Linked DNA regions of Homo sapiens: all the other regions are linked to region 1. The links are contacts of gene promoters, found by promoter capture Hi-C in human tissues and cell types (Jung and others, 2019). All regions are on one chromosome and are shown on one strand. The core of a region is centred on a gene start or on the middle of the fragment in contact, and the rest is flanking DNA. Distances in the headings are between cores, read along the strand shown.

What was found. The method cuts DNA at HindIII sites, captures the fragments that hold promoters and counts their contacts. A contact is called where the count stands out against the background at its distance.
Region 2: a contact is called between the fragment with the promoter of DBN1 here and a fragment that was not itself captured in region 1, in 2 of the 25 tissues and cell types used here (liver and lymphoblastoid cells).
Region 3: the fragment with the promoter of DOK3 here is called in contact with a fragment that was not itself captured in region 1 in 1 of the 25 tissues and cell types used here (lymphoblastoid cells).

The regions. Positions count from the first base shown.
Region 1 is chr5:178,186,979-178,191,895 of GRCh38, reverse strand. GMCL2 (germ cell-less 2, spermatogenesis associated) reads left to right here and starts at 4,525. Exons shown (of 1, transcript NM_001358008.2): 1 at 4,525-4,917. The coding sequence starts at 4,597. The HindIII fragment of the contact is 8,651 bases long and covers 1-4,917 here.
Region 2 is chr5:177,470,998-177,475,914 of GRCh38, reverse strand. DBN1 (drebrin 1) reads left to right here and starts at 2,281. Exons shown (of 15, transcript NM_001363541.2): 1 at 2,281-2,479. The coding sequence starts at 2,394. RefSeq lists silencers at 2,044-2,093, 2,104-2,483, 2,564-2,763, 2,794-3,163, 3,083-3,269 and enhancers at 2,418-2,919, 2,920-3,423. The HindIII fragment of the contact is 16,715 bases long and covers 1-4,917 here.
Region 3 is chr5:177,506,948-177,511,864 of GRCh38, reverse strand. DOK3 (docking protein 3) reads left to right here and starts at 2,039. Exons shown (of 6, transcript NM_001308236.3): 1 at 2,039-2,107; 2 at 2,208-2,390; 3 at 3,323-3,628. The coding sequence starts at 2,325. It overlaps DDX41 (DEAD-box helicase 41), which reads left to right. Exons shown (of 17, transcript NM_016222.4): 17 at 1-288. The coding sequence ends at 74. RefSeq lists enhancers at 1,634-1,783, 3,604-3,653, 3,674-3,783 and a silencer at 1,914-2,053. The HindIII fragment of the contact is 13,536 bases long and covers 1-4,917 here.

The sequences.
Region 1 (4,917 bases), core at 641-3,140:
TATCAAAAATAAATAAATAAATAAACAAATAAATAAATAAATAATGAAAATAATAATATTTCATGACACATAAAAATTGTATGAAACTCAACTTTCAGCATCCATAAATTAACTTTGACATTCTGTCAATAGCAATCCCCCCAAATTATGGAAGTTGGTTTCATTTCTTGGTATGTACTTACCGACTTCATACCCTCGATTTTGCCTGTTGGCCCAAAGCATAAAGTATTTATTCTAGCCAGGCGCAGTGGCTCATTCCTGTAATCCCAGCAGTTTGGGAGGCCAAGGCAGGTGGATCACTTGAGGTCAGGAGTTCGAGACCAACCTGGCCAACATGATGAAACCCCATCTCTACAAAAAATTCAAAAAATTAGCCAGGCATGGTGGCACATGCCTGTAATCTCAGCTACTTGGGAAGCTGAGGCACAAGAATTGTCTGACCCTGGGAGGTAGAAGCTGCAGTGAGCCGAGATAGCGTCATTACACTCCAGCCTGGGCAACGAGAGTGAAACTCTGTCTCAAAAATAAAATAAAATAAATTAAAAATAAATAAATAAAATAGAGATCATAAGACTGACAAAACAGACTTTTTTTTTTTAGACAGAGTTTCGCTCTTGTTGCCCAGGCTGGAGTGCAATGGCATGATCTTGGCTCACTGCAACCTCTGGCCCCCGGGTTCAAGTAATTCTTCTGCCTCAGCCTCCTGAGTAGCTGGGAATACAGGCGCCCACCACCACATCCAGCTAATTTTTTGTATTTTTAGTAGAGATGGGGTTTCACTATGTTGGCCAGGCTGCTCTCAAACTCTTGACCTCTTGACCTCAGGTGATCCACCCACCTCAGCCTCCCAAAGTGCTGGGATTACAGGTGTGAGACACCGTGCCTGGCTCAAAACAGAATTTTTGTAGCAATAAGATGCCAAATTTCTACCTGACTCTGGTACATCACGTAACAGATAGCAGACCCTGAAGGGCATCAAAATATTTTACCCCAAAATATATTTATTTGACAATATTTTGAAATGGCCCTGCAAAGCTGTCTCCCATGGGGGAAATTTGCATCTGTAGAGAATTTCCATTAATGTAGCCAGGACTTTGTCAGATTTAGGAGAGATTCAATGAGAGTCTGAGACTTTTGAAGGTCTGAAAAGAGACATTCACTATCTATTCTGAGGGCTGCTACCTGGAGGCTTCATCTACGTAACAAGAACCTCAGCTTCCACAACCCCTTTCTTAACCCAAGCATTTCTTCCCACTGACTTCAACGCTTTTTTTTTTTTTTTTGAGATGGAATCTCGCTCTGTCGCCCAGGCTGGAGTGCAATGCAACCTCCACCTCCCTGGGTTCAAGCGATTCTCCTGCTTCAGCCTCCAGAGTAGCTGAGACTACAGATGTGTGCTACCACACCCAGTTAATTTTTGTACTATTAGTAGAGACAGGGTTTCACCATATTGGCCAGGCTGGTCTCGAACTCCTGACCTCGTGATCTGCCCTCCTTGGCCTCCAAACTGCTGGGATTACAGGCGTGAGCCACCATGCCTTCAACTCTTTATTTTATTTTATCTTACTATTTTTTTTGGAGATGGAGTTTCACTCTTGTTGCCCAGGCTGGAGTGCAATGGTGCGACCTCGGCTAACTGCAACATCCACCTCCCAGGTTCAGGCAATTATCCTGCCTCAGGCTCCAGAGTAGCTGGGATTACAGATGCATGCCACCACTCCCAGTTAATTTTTCTATTTCTAGTAGAGATGGGGTTTCACCATATTGGCCAGGCTGGTATTGAACTCCTGACCTCAAGTGATCCATCTGCCTTGGCCTCCCAAAGTGCTGGGATTACAGGTGTGAGCTACTGCAACTGGCCTGTTTTATTTTATTTTTGAGACAGGGTCTCATTCTGTCCCCCGAGTTGGAATGCAGTGTCACAGTCATGGCTCACCATAGGCTCGACCTCCTGGGCTTAAGTAATCCTCCCACCTTAGCCTCCCAAGTAGCTGGGACTACAGGTGCACATCACGATGCCCAATTAATTTTTAAAATTTTTTTGTAGACACCGGGTCTCACTACGCTGCCCAGGCTTGTTGAAAACTCCTGGGATCAAGCCATCCTCCTCGGCCTCTCAAAGTGCTGGGATTACAGATGTCAGTCATTGTACCCAGCCACTTCAACTCTTTAGACAAAGCTTAACTTTTTCAACCAATTGCCAATCAGAAAACCTTTGAATCACCTATGACCTGTAACTCCCCTGGAGTTGTCCTGCCCTTATAGGCTGAAGCAATGTGTACTTTACATGTATTGATTGATGTATTTGCTTGTAACCTCTGTCTCCCTAAAATGTATAAAACCAAACTATAACCCAACCATCTGAGGCACACTTTCTCAGGACCTCTTGAGACTGTACCCCAGGTCATGGTCACTCATATCAGCTGAGAATAAACTTCTTTTTTTTTTTTTTTTTTTGAGATGGAGTCTCGCTCTGTCACCCAGGCTGGAGTGCAGTGGCGCAAGCTCTGCCTCCCGGGTTCACGCCAGAGAATAAACTTCTTTAAACATTTTACAGAGCTTTTTTTTTTTTTTTTTTTTTTTTTTGGTCAACATAGACCATTCACCTGGCCCCTTAACTCCAACAGAAACTCCAGATTTGCCTTTGGAATCAGGAGGCTGAGCTTCCTGACTTCCCAACTCTGGGATTTAGAACAAGTCACTTTCCCTATTGAAACCTCTGTTTTCTTCATCTGGGAATGGGGCAGGCACTCACATAGGTTTGAGGAAGCCACAGGGCTGGTCACTCTTCACTTGTGTCCAGCGTCCCATCCACCTCCCTGGCATGACCTTGCCTCCCCCTGCAGCACTGGCCCATCTAGGGCTCCCCACACCTACATATCTGGCCCTGATGCCCCTCGCCAATCTCTGCCCCCACTGTACCAAAGATGGAGCCCCGCATGGCGACTCCTACATTGCTCTGGGGGCACAGACCTCCATCTGCCTGGAACAGCCTCCCACCTTCCTCATCAAGTCCTGTTTTCTTACAGGAAGACACCCACATGCCCCAGCCATCCCATCCCCAAGGACTGGCCAAGCAGTTCCAGCACACCCCTCGGGTGGTCTCAGTGTGTGCCCTTCTCCAGTTCCTCCGGGTCTGGGCCTGGGTCAGCCCTTTACACACACGGGGTTCCCAACAAGTAGCTTCCAGATGGCCTGGTGAGGCTGCAGGGCAAATTTCCAGGACCATGCCCCACTTCTCCACTCCATCCCCCAAGGACAAAAGCCTCCTCAATTCCGACATCCTAATCCTGCTGCCCCTGTCTCCACAGATCCTCCCCACAGAGAATCCCTGCCTATCCTGCCCAGGCCCTCTGCTTGCTTCTGCCTTCCCAGACCGGCTGCAGTGATCATTTCACCCAGCCATGGTCACTTTCACCATATTGGCCAGGCTGGTCTTGAACTCCTGACCTCGTGATCTGCCCACCTCGGCCTCCCAAAGTGCTGGGATTACAGGTGTGAGCAGCCACCGTACCTGGCTTGACTTCAAGTCTTTATTCTATTTTATTTTATCTTATTATTTTTTTCTGGAGACGGAATTTCGCTCTTGTCGCCCAGGCTGGAATGTAATGATGCGATCTTGGCTCACTGCAACTTCTGCCTCCTGGGTTCAAGCAGTTCTCCATTTCAGCCTCCCGAAAAGCTGGGATTACAGGCGTGCACCACCACACCTGGCTAAATTTTATATTATTAGTAGAGATGGGGTTTCACCATGTTGGCCAGGCCAGTCTCAAACTCCTGACCTCATGTGATCCACCCACCTTGGCCTCCCAAAGTGCTGGGATTATAGGCATGAGCCACCGAGCCTGGCCTATTTTATTTTATTATTTTATTTTATTTTTGTGCCTGGTCGCAAATTTACATTGGACTGGTTAGGCTCAAGCGTCTGGTACACACATTTTCCTTTGTCAGGTCTTGCAAATAAAACTTTGCTCCTAGGGAAGTGGTCCTTCTAAAACGGACCTTGGTTTTGGCTGCCAGATGAGAATTGCTTCCAGCAATGAAGAATGCTGTCCAAGGAGTTCAAGACCACCCGGAGAAACACAGTGAAACCTTGTCTCTAAAAGAAATTGTTTTAGGCCGGAGGCAGTGGCTCACGCCTGTAGTCCCAGCACTTTGGGAGGCCAAGGTAAGAGGATCACCTGAAGTCAGGAGTTTGAGACCAGCCTGGCCAACATGGGGAAACCCCGCCTCTACTAAAAATACAAAAATTACCCAGGTGTGGTGGCGGGCGCCTGTAATCCCAGCTACTCAGGAGGCTGAGGCAGGAGAATCACTTGAACCCGCGAGGCAGAGGTTGCAGTGAGCCGAGATCGCGCCACTGCACTCCAGCCTGGGCGACAGAGCAAGACTCCGTCTCAAAAAAAAAAAAAAAAAAAAATTGTGGGGGAGGGGTGCGGAGGTTGGAGGCGGCAGTGTCCGCTGCAACGGTTGGGGCTGCGCGTGAGAAGGTGGCGGTGTAGGCACCTGTGCTCGGGGAAGGCTGGCGGCGGCGGCCGGGCCATGGCCAGAGACCCCCTCCTCTGGGCTCCCTGAAGTCCTGGGGAGCCGTGACCCATGGGATCGTCGAGCAGCCGGGTGCTGGGCCAGCCGAGGCGAGCCCTTGCCCAGCAGGAACAGGGTGCCAGGGCCAGGGGCTCGGCCCGGAGGCCGGACACTGGAGACGATGCGGCGAGCTACGGCTTCTGTTACTGCCCGGGCAGTCACAAGCGCAAGCGGAGCAGCGGGGCCTGCCGCTACTGTGACCCGGACTCGCACAGGGAGGAGCATGAGGAGGAGGGGGACAAGCAGCAGCCGCTCCTCAACACCCCTGCAAGGAAAAAATTAAGGAGTACATCCAAATATATTTATCAAACATTATTTTTGAATGGTGAAAAC
Region 2 (4,917 bases), core at 1,032-3,531, 720 kb after region 1:
TTGGGGGTGGCAGACACGAAGTCCTGGTAGGAGGAACCCACCAGCCTCCCACCCACCAAGGCTGAGTGTGTGGGCTTCAGGGGCAACAGCAGCTGAAAGGAGGCAGGTTCTCAGAGGACAGTGACCAGTGGCCACCCACTCCCACCAGTCAGGGCAACTGAGAACTATGGGTCCACTGAGTTTGGCAAGTTAGGGGTTACTGGTGACCTTGGCCAGAGCAGTGCCAGAGAAAATGCGGGGAGGAGGAGACAGAGGACAGATGTCTGTCTGCATCCTATAGAAATGAGGGGATGAAGATAACCTGGAAGGGTGACGGGTGCGGAGACCAGGGGAGTGGGCTCTAGGGCATGCCAGCAGGGAACACCCTTGCTTCCCTGAAAATAGGGAAAACTGAGTGCAGGGTGTATGGGAACTCTCTATACTATCTTTGTAACTTTTCTGTAAATCTAACACTGTTCTAAAATAGAAAGTTTATTTAAAAATGTTGATGGCAAGAGGTGAGAGTGGGCGTGGCTGGAGAGTTTGTAGGTGGCTGGTGGGGAGGCAGGAATTTGAGGAAGGAAGAGCTTAGATGCATTTAGGGCTTCTGTTTTTTGGATGCAAAATTGAGTGTGCAGGAGGCTGGGGGGTGAGGGGAGCGGGGGGGGCGAGGAGCTGTGAGCTAGGACAAATCAAAGGAAGCTGGAAGAGGCTGAGGCCACAGATGCTCATGGCCAGCCATCTGCTGCCCCTCCCCGGCTGCAGGGTCTCCCTCCTCACCAGAATCAGGCTCTTCATGCCTAAGGGTGGGGGATGGCTGAAGCTCTGTCCCTCCATGGCTCTCCCCACTTCCCTTCCCCACCATGTGTCACCCACTCCCTTAGGGATCCCCATGGCAGGCCAACCACACCTACTGGCCAGTTGGTCTAGGGCACAGGGCCTGGCTGTGTCCCTGCCTGGGTGCCTCACTCTAGTGGTGGCCATGGAGAAATTGCCATGGCCTGTGGTCCCTAGACATAGTGGGCACTGACTTCCCAAGGCAGGGGCCTGTGAGTATTTTGAGTTTTAAGAGGGTTCTCCCAACTCCAAAGCGCCAGGAACACTGCCACATAGGCAGCCCTGCTCTCCTTCTCTTGGCATAGCCAATTACCCAACGCAGAACTCGGAGGCCTGGCTAGAACCACCTCCTCCTCCGCGGTGCGGTTGGGACCAGGTGAAGTTTGCTCAGGGAGGTCGAGGTTGGAGGCTTTGTAGTGGTGGAAAAGGCTTCTAAGCGCTGTGGACGGTTTCAGGGTCCCAACCTAGCAAGGAACGGAGTTCTGGAAGGCCCTGGCATGGTGTCCACTCCCTTGCAGGGGGTACTTTTCTGAGGCCCCCTCCCGTTCTGTGCTTAGAGCTTTAGGAGATAAAGGTGCCAAGAGGCTGGCCCTGAGCGTCCTTGGAGGAGCCCTGCCGTGGGAGTCTGGGGTTAGATGCTGCTTCCGGAACTCTACTTGGGACTCCTCTGGGAGGCGTGAGGCTTGAGAGAGAATGCAAAGGATCTCCTAGCTGGCCCCATCTGAGAGGGCACAGGCGTGGAGGGGAGGAGAGGCCTGGAATGGAGGGATAATGAGCTGGGTAGGGGCTGAGAATGGCCTGGAATAAGTGGTCATGGAGCCGAGATGGGGGGCTGTGGTTGGGAATTGGGAACTGGGATCAGGATGAGACTGGGATGGGTTGGACTGAAGATGTGCCGTGACACATGTTGGGGGGGACACGTGCTAAGCATGGGGCTGAAGCTGGGATGGGAAAGCAACTGGGGTGGATTTGAGGGTGGGATGCAGATGACAGTGGATATGATGGGATAGACTAGGCAAGGACCTCTCAGGGAAAGGAGACGGGCCAGGGGTGGGGTGTTGTGTGAGCTGGGTTGGGATGAAAATGGGTTTAACATGAGGTGGGACGCACCAGGAATGGAGATCAATGAAGCAATGGGTGGGGCGGAACCGGATTGGGACGGGGGGTGGGCGGGGGGAGGTGGGGACGGGACTGGGTTCGGGGCTGGAAGGAGGGCTAGCGCCGAGGTTACGGACGGGGCAGGTGAGGGTTCGGGACGTGGGTGGGGCTGGCCCTGGAGCGGCGCGCAGGGGCGGTGGGTGAGGGGCGCCCGGGGCAGGCCGGGAAGGGGGGGCGGGCCTCCCCCTGGGCCGGGCCGGGGCGGCGCTAGGACCGAGCGAGCGGAGGGAGCGAGCCGGGCGGAGCCAGCGCCCCCCGCCCCCCGCCGGCCGGCTCCCCTCCCCCGGCCGCTGGCTCGCTCGGCTCGCGACGCTGCAGAGGCTCCGAGGCGGCGGCGGCGACTCCCTCTTTCCCTCCCTCCTCCTCCGTCCGCCCGTCCGTCCGCGCGTCTGTCCGTTCGGCCCGGTCCGGCCCGAAGCATGGCCGGCGTCAGCTTCAGCGGCCACCGCCTGGAGCTGCTGGCGGCTTACGAGGAGGTGATCCGAGAGGAGAGCGCGGCCGACTGGTGAGCCCCCCGCCCCCGCCCCCGGCCCCTTTGTCCCCGCGCCGCCGCCGCGCCTTTGTTTCTCTCCCGCCCCGCCGCCCCGCCGCCGGGAAGGGAGGGGGACCCCGAAATGGTGCAGCGGGCCGGGAGGGCCGGGAGGGGCTGCCTTTGTGCGCGCCGGGGGAGGGGCCGGCGGGCCAGGCGGGGCACTGCCGGGCCCCGAGCGCCCGGAGGCGGCCCAAGGCGCGCGGTGGGAGCGGCGGCCGGACGCGGCCCGGAGGCGCGGGGTCCCGATGTGGGGCCCGGGGCCGCGTGGCCCTGCGGGAGCCCATCCCCCACCCTACCCCCCGGGCCCGGGGGACAGGTGTGCACGGGGCGGCCAAGGGCACCTTCGCCACCTTCGAGCGGGCGAGGTCCGGGCGGGGACGGGGCGGGGACCGAGCTAGCGGAGCCAGCGCAGCCTGCCCGGCTCAGCCCGGCCCGGCCACAGCACAAAGGAAAGCGAGGGCGGGGGAGGAGCGGAGCGGGCTGGGGGCCGGGCGCCCCGCCCACCGGGGGGCCTCTCGGAGTGGGCCGCCCTCCCCCCGAAACCTGGGCTGGAGTGAGGTGGAAGGATGTTTGCTGCCACATGGCGACCGCGAAGTGACTCCCTTACCGCCGCGGGTCGCGGAGGAGGCAGGGGTGAGCTCTCCTCCCCTACCTGAAGGGGACTGCGGGGACTAGGCAGCTGGGCTGGGGGGCACCGAGCTGCCTAAGGGGCCAGCTGAGATCCCTGGGAGGAAGCCCTCTGGAGAACAAGTGTGGAGGGAGCCCCCAAAGACGGCTGAAGGGGTGAACAGATCCACCGGCCCCCAGCAAGGGGCACTCGGTCCCTGATGGGGGAGGAGCTGGGCCGCCCCTCACCCCGCCCCCCAGCTGTTGTCTCCCGCTGAGCTGGGGGAGGGGATGGACCACCTGCTCTGGGGCTGGCGGCCCAGGGTGGTGGAAAAAGGAAACCGAGGGGTTCCTCACAGCCCCATCCTGGAATCCTTTAACCCCCCCGTAATACTCTTCTTCTAGGGAAGGTGCCCATCTGGTTCCTAGGCCTCCTCTCCCTGCTGGCAGATGGGAACAGGTTCTTCTTGAGGAAACTGAGGCAAAGAGGAGGGCAGGTCTGAGGGACCCCGCTTGGGCTGGCCTCACCCGCACACTGGGAGGGCAGCCAGGTGGGGACTCTGACCTGGGGGCTTCTGGAGGAGAGGATGAGATGGCTGGGCATCCATGGCATGGTACTGCAGCACTGGCCAGCAGCCAGGCCTGGAGGGATGGACGCGAGAGACAAGCTCTCGTGTCCTGCAGGTCAGTCACAGGAGAGGCCGGCACAGGCTCAGCAGGCAGGCGGCCCACCCATTGTCCCAGCCCTGCCCCAGGGGGGCTGAGATCATGGGAGGAGCTCTGGGCAAGTGGCCGGCTTGGCCTGGTGAAGGAGCTGGCTTTGGGATAAGGCCCCGCCTGGGGAGAAGCACAGCTCACCCCAGAACACCTCCTTTGCCCTCCAGCCTGGAGGGGTGTTGTCTACCAACACCCCATTTTCTCCTAAAAGCAGAGCTCTGGTGGCCTATTGCCAAGGCCACACAACCCCTGTTGCCCCACATCCTGCTCAACACAGGCCTGCCCCCACCCACCCCAGCAGCATCCGTGTGGCCAAAGCGAGTTATTCATCACTGGTGTGCGTCAGCCCCCATCTGGGTTGTGTGTGGGACACACACAGATGCACACATGTACCCTCGCACATGCACACATTCGTTCACTAAGGGCCCAGATAACATTTTGAAAAAGGGGTGTGAGGATCACTTTCTACACAAGAGAATATGAATACCCCAGGGCCCAGCATGGAACCAGGGGTGCAGTGAGGTCTGAAGACTCAGAGGCAGACCCTGCACATAGGTCCAGAGGGAGGGGTGTCTTGGGTAAATTGCTGTCTGCCCCCCGACCCTTACCTTGCCTCCAATGGGGAGGGGTGGTTGGGGGAGTTCACTCCTAGGTGGCAGGGCCTCTGAAGTGCACCACTACTCTGGCACAGGGAGCAGGGGACCCAGGAAATGAGGTTGTGTGGTGGGAAGGGCCACTGTTGTCCTGGTTGTGATATGACTCACTGTGATCATACACAAGTTCCTGGTCCTCTTGGAAAGAAAAGGGATTGGGCCCAGCACTACCTCGGATACTGAAGGCCTTTCTAGCACCACCATCCTGAGAGTGATGGTCCTGCGGGGTCCACCTGCCCTCAGCCCCCGACTCCAGCTCACCCTCCACCCCAGCTCACCCCCCATCCCAGCTCACCCCAGGGTCTCTGGAACTGCCACATTCCAGCTCCCACCTCACGCTAGTTCAGTTTATCTGGCTAGATGGCTTTTGAGTTGGTGTCAATATCACACATACTTCTGGTATGCGGTGTGCTGGACCCCAGGACCCAGAGAGCA
Region 3 (4,917 bases), core at 790-3,289, 680 kb after region 1:
AGGCTATGCAGACCAAGCAGGTCAGCAACATCGGTCGCAAGGACTACCTGGCCCACAGCTCCATGGACTTCTGAGCCGACAGTCTTCCCTTCTCTCCAAGAGGCCTCAGTCCCCAAGACTGCCACCAGTCTACACATACAGCAGCCCCCTGGACAGAATCAGCATTTCAGCTCAGCTGGCCTGGGATGGGCCAGGCTGGTCCTGGCTGCCTGTTCCCTGTGCTCTTCAGAATTACTGTTTTTGTTTCCTTTTACCCCAGCTGCCATTAAAGCCCAAACCTCTAGCCCAGCCCTGGCCCTGCCTCTGTGTTTCACCTCATCCGCCCCCTGGTTCCTGGACAGACGTCACCTCTGACCTCTGGAGCCCCTCTGAGGCAAGGCCCCAGCATCTCCCACTAGCACTGCCAACACCTGGCCTGCTGGTACTTGGCTGTGGAAGGAGCCACCGAGCTGGTGCCCGCCTCTGGGGACTCTGGGTCTCTCCACTGGGTTGTCTGAATTTATGACTCAAGGAGGGACCACATTGGCGGGCCAAGGAGAAGTGCTTGGATTCTCTGGTCTCCCTGGCCAGCTGTCATAGCTCTCAGGCCCACTCTTCCTGTCAGGGCTGTGATGTTTCAGGGACTTCTCCTGAAGCCCCTTGGGAGGCTGCTTCTTGCCTCAGGACCCCCACCCACTGCCTGCCTGTGCCAGCCACCTGGAGGGAGCCCTCCATTCCGTTGACTGAGGAGGCAGCAGATGTCATAGAACTGCCATTTAGGCCACAAGCTCTCCCTAAGCCTGCTCTGTGCCCAGCTCTGCTGAGCTGTGAGGACCTAGATGGGCCAGGGAGATGGCTGCCTGGGAAGCCGTCAGGCGAGGGGAGAGAAAGACGCACACGCAGAAACGTGGACGGCAGTCACAAGACCGCTAGCAGATGAGGCAGGATCTCAGCATCTGGTGAGAGGTAGGCAGGGACGGCACAGGCGGCCACACTTCCTCTGAGCCAGGCACTTTGCATGTATGGCCACATGCTCATTCCAGTGAGACAGCGGTTGCTCAAGCCATATTTGTCACTTGATATGTGGCATTGGGCAAGTTACTTAATTTTTCTGAGCACCGATTTCCTCACTGTTGAAATGGCGATGAGAACGCAAAGGATGTGGCGTCTGAGGTGGACGGAGCTTAGGGCTGCTTGGGCCACAGTGGGCACAGAGCTGGGTGCCAGGAGGCCTTCAGGACATATTTCCTGGCCAAGTGCATTCCCAAATGGCATTCCTTATCCTCTTCCATGTTCTCTCCCAGAGGTGGTGCTGAATGACCTGAGGCTGTTCCAGAATAAAGGTATACACACAGCCCCGCTATTGGCATCTTGCTAGGCAAGCCAACAAAAGGCGCCCCCAGCAGGAAGCAAAGCTTTAAATGAACATGTGACCTCTCCGGGGCCCCCTGGGACCTGCCACCCACACTCACGTGGTTGGGGCCATTCAGGGCTGTGGGTCCCATGTGGACTGGATGCCCAGCGTGAGTGTATACCGTGAGGGCCTTTGAGCTCTCGGACAGCGTGGAGTGGTCAAGGGAGGCCTCCAGGAGGAAGAGGTGGCCAACCGCCCCAGGCAGCACAGTGGTGAGGGGGCCCTGGAGGGGCTGGCCTGGGGGAGATGCAGGCCAGAACACACAGGTCCCTGAGTGTTGGGCTGAGGAGCCTGGGCTGCACCCCAGGAAGGGGAGAGACAGGTTGGTCTTGGGTTGTGGAGAGTGCTGCATGGAGGCCCAGTGGGGCAGTGGCCCCTGGGGGGATGCCAAAGGCTGGTGATGTTCAGTGGCTCGTGAGGTGGAGAGGAGCAGGTGAACACGAGAGAGATTTCAGGGAGAAAGAAAAGCAGCAAGATGGGGTGAGGCGCTCAAACCAGGACGCCGAGTGGGAAAGCCAGGAGTTGGCTAGAGAAGGGTCCTGGGTGGAGGCAGGGCCAGGGAGTGTCAGGCCCAGGGTGCGCAGCTGCCCGGGGCGGGACGGGGGAGGGGCGGGAACTCATGACTCGGGGAGCCAGACTGCGATCAGACGCGCGTGCCCAGCTGAACCAGGTGCGTGAGAAGGCTGCCTTCAGGTGGCCGGGGGCTCCCTCCAGGTAGGTGTGGGCACCTTGGGCAGCCAGAACCCCAGGGAGGAAATACATGCTGCCCCCAGCCCCTGAGCTGAAGACAGGCTCCCCTCCCCCCGGCCTGCAGCTGTCTCTAGACGGAGGGACGGGAAGTGGCCAGAAGGGGAAGTGTGAGGAGTTCCCGTCCAGCCTGTCATCAGTCTCCCCAGGTCTTGAAGCGGCGGCCCTGCTCCTGGCCGTGACCATGGACCCTCTGGAGACCCCTATCAAGGATGGCATCCTCTACCAGCAGCATGTCAAGTTTGGCAAGGTGGGGACCCCTGGCTGCCAGGCAGCTGCCAAGGACCAACAGTGGGTGGAGAATGCAGCCTCTGCCCCTGCCTCGGACAGCCCAGGCAGACCTGGGAGACTTGGGAAGGGAGTCAGGGTGGAGGATCCCACCCAGGTATGGGGAGTGGAATGGAGTGCGGGTGTCAGCCTGAGACGGCAGGGGCTGAGCAGGCTCTGCCAGACCCTGCCTCCGGGAGAGATGGGAAATACAGGAGTGGGAGAGGGTCGAAGGCTCAAACCTCCCAGCAGGGAAGAGCTTCACAGCCTCTGACCCATGAAATAGTGCCACCGAGGGCCCTAAATAGGGTGAGGGGCTGAGCTGGAGGAGGCCTCAAGGGTGGAGCCCCTCCCTGCAGCGGCACTGTCCTGGGAGCAAGGAGGCAGGGGGTCACCTCTCCTCGGCAGCAGCCCCACACCCCCGCAGCTCAGCTGCAGCTGCTGCCCAGGCAGATAAACCGTCAGTTTCCTTTGCTCGAAGCTATTTGCATGTTTCCTTCCTTAACAGCTTGAGGCAGAGGCCTCCCTCCCACCCCAGCTCTTGGCCTGTGGCCCAAGTGCCCCTTTTTGGGGGTGAGAGGGAACCAATATAATGGCAGTGTCTGGTGGTCTGCCCGGCCACTGGATGCTTTACAAACATGACCCAGTAGCAGTCCCAGCTCGAGTTCTCATGGCCTTTTGAGAGACGACATTGATGCTTGTGGAGGTCACAGTTAGGAAAGAGCGGGCTGGGATTTGAACCCAGGGCTGACCAATCCCAAGCATAGCCAAGGCCTCCTTACCTGGCTCCCTGAGAAACTGGGGAGCAGAGGCCCGCTCCTGGCTGGGAGCGTTTGCCGAGCAGCTTGTGCTGAGCCAAGTGGCACGGACAATCTGCCACCCAAGGGTCTTCACCCTCCCGCTCCCCTCCCGCAGAAGTGCTGGCGGAAGGTGTGGGCTCTGCTGTATGCAGGAGGCCCATCAGGCGTGGCACGGCTGGAGAGCTGGGAGGTCCGGGATGGTGGCCTGGGAGCAGCGGGTGACAGGTCGGCAGGGCCTGGCCGGCGAGGGGAGCGACGGGTCATCCGCCTGGCTGACTGTGTGTCCGTGCTGCCGGCTGACGGCGAGAGCTGCCCCCGGGACACCGGTGCCTTCCTGCTCACCACCACCGAGCGAAGCCATCTACTGGCTGCTCAGCACCGCCAGGCCTGGATGGGCCCCATCTGCCAGCTGGCCTTCCCGGTGAGTGCGGCGAGCAGGGGGGCGATTGGGCTGGGGCACCTGCCCCCGACTTGTCCACCTCCACGCTCACATCCCATCACCCAGCAAGCTCCACCGAGCACCTACAAGCCTGGGAAAAGTAAATCTATAATGACTCTCAGAGGGCCGTGCGTGCCATGGAGAAAATGGACCGCCAGGGGAGCAGGAGGAAGTGAGGGAGCGACGGGCAGGGTGGCCAGGGAAGGCCTCTCAGAGGAGGGCCCTGAATGACAGGAACCCACTGGGCAAAGGTCTGAGGACAGGGGCAGCCTGGGGAGTTGTGAACAGAGGGAGTCCCGTGGGCAGAGGCCCCGAGGCCGGACAGTGTGGGGTGTTTAAGGGCAGAAAGAAGGCGACGTGGCTGGAAGGAAAGGAGTGCAGGAGGAAGCCAACTCACAGAGCTTAGGAGAGCGGCTGAAATGCCCTAGGCCATGTGTGTGGTTTTGTTCTGAGTGAGAGGCGAAGGCTTTGGAGGGTTTAAGCCGGACATGTTTGTAAAGCCCCAAAAGGTCTGTGATGGGTCAAAAGGAAGTGAGCCTGGGGGTTCTTCAAAGAGGTAAACAGAGTTACCATGTGGCCCACAGGTCCACTCCTAGGTGTGTGCCCAAGAGAACTTGAACAGGTGTTCAAACAAAACATGTACATGTGAGGCAGGAGGATCGCATGAGCCCCAGAGGTCGAGGCTGCAGTGAGCTGTAATCGTGCCACTTCACTCCAGCCCGGGAGACAGAGCAAGACCCTATCTTAAAAAAAAACCCACATGGACATGAACGTCCATAGCAGCACTACTCACAGCCACCAGAAGGTGGAAACAGCCTACATGGCCATCAGCTGACAAATGGATAAGCAAAACGTGGTCCGTCCGCAAGATGGAATACTACTCAGCCATAAAAACAAACAAACGCCTGGCACAGTAGCTCTTGCCTGTAATCTTAGCACTTTGGGAGGCTGAGGTAGGAGGATTGCTTGAGCCTAGGAATTCAAGATCAGCCTGGGCAACATAGTGAGACCCTGTCTCAAAAAAAAAAAAGAAAAGAAGAAAGAAAGAAATGTACAGACAAGGTAACTCCATTGGGATAGAAATCAGATGAGTGTTGGCAGGAGCTGGAGGAAGGGAGAAGTGGGGAGTGGCTGCTCATGGGTACAGGGCTTCCATGTGGGATGATGGAAAAGTTCTGGAACTAGACAGTGGCAACAGTGCACAGCCTTGTGAGTATACTAAAAAGCACTGGTGGCCGGGTGCGGTGGCTCAGGCCTATAATCCCAGCACT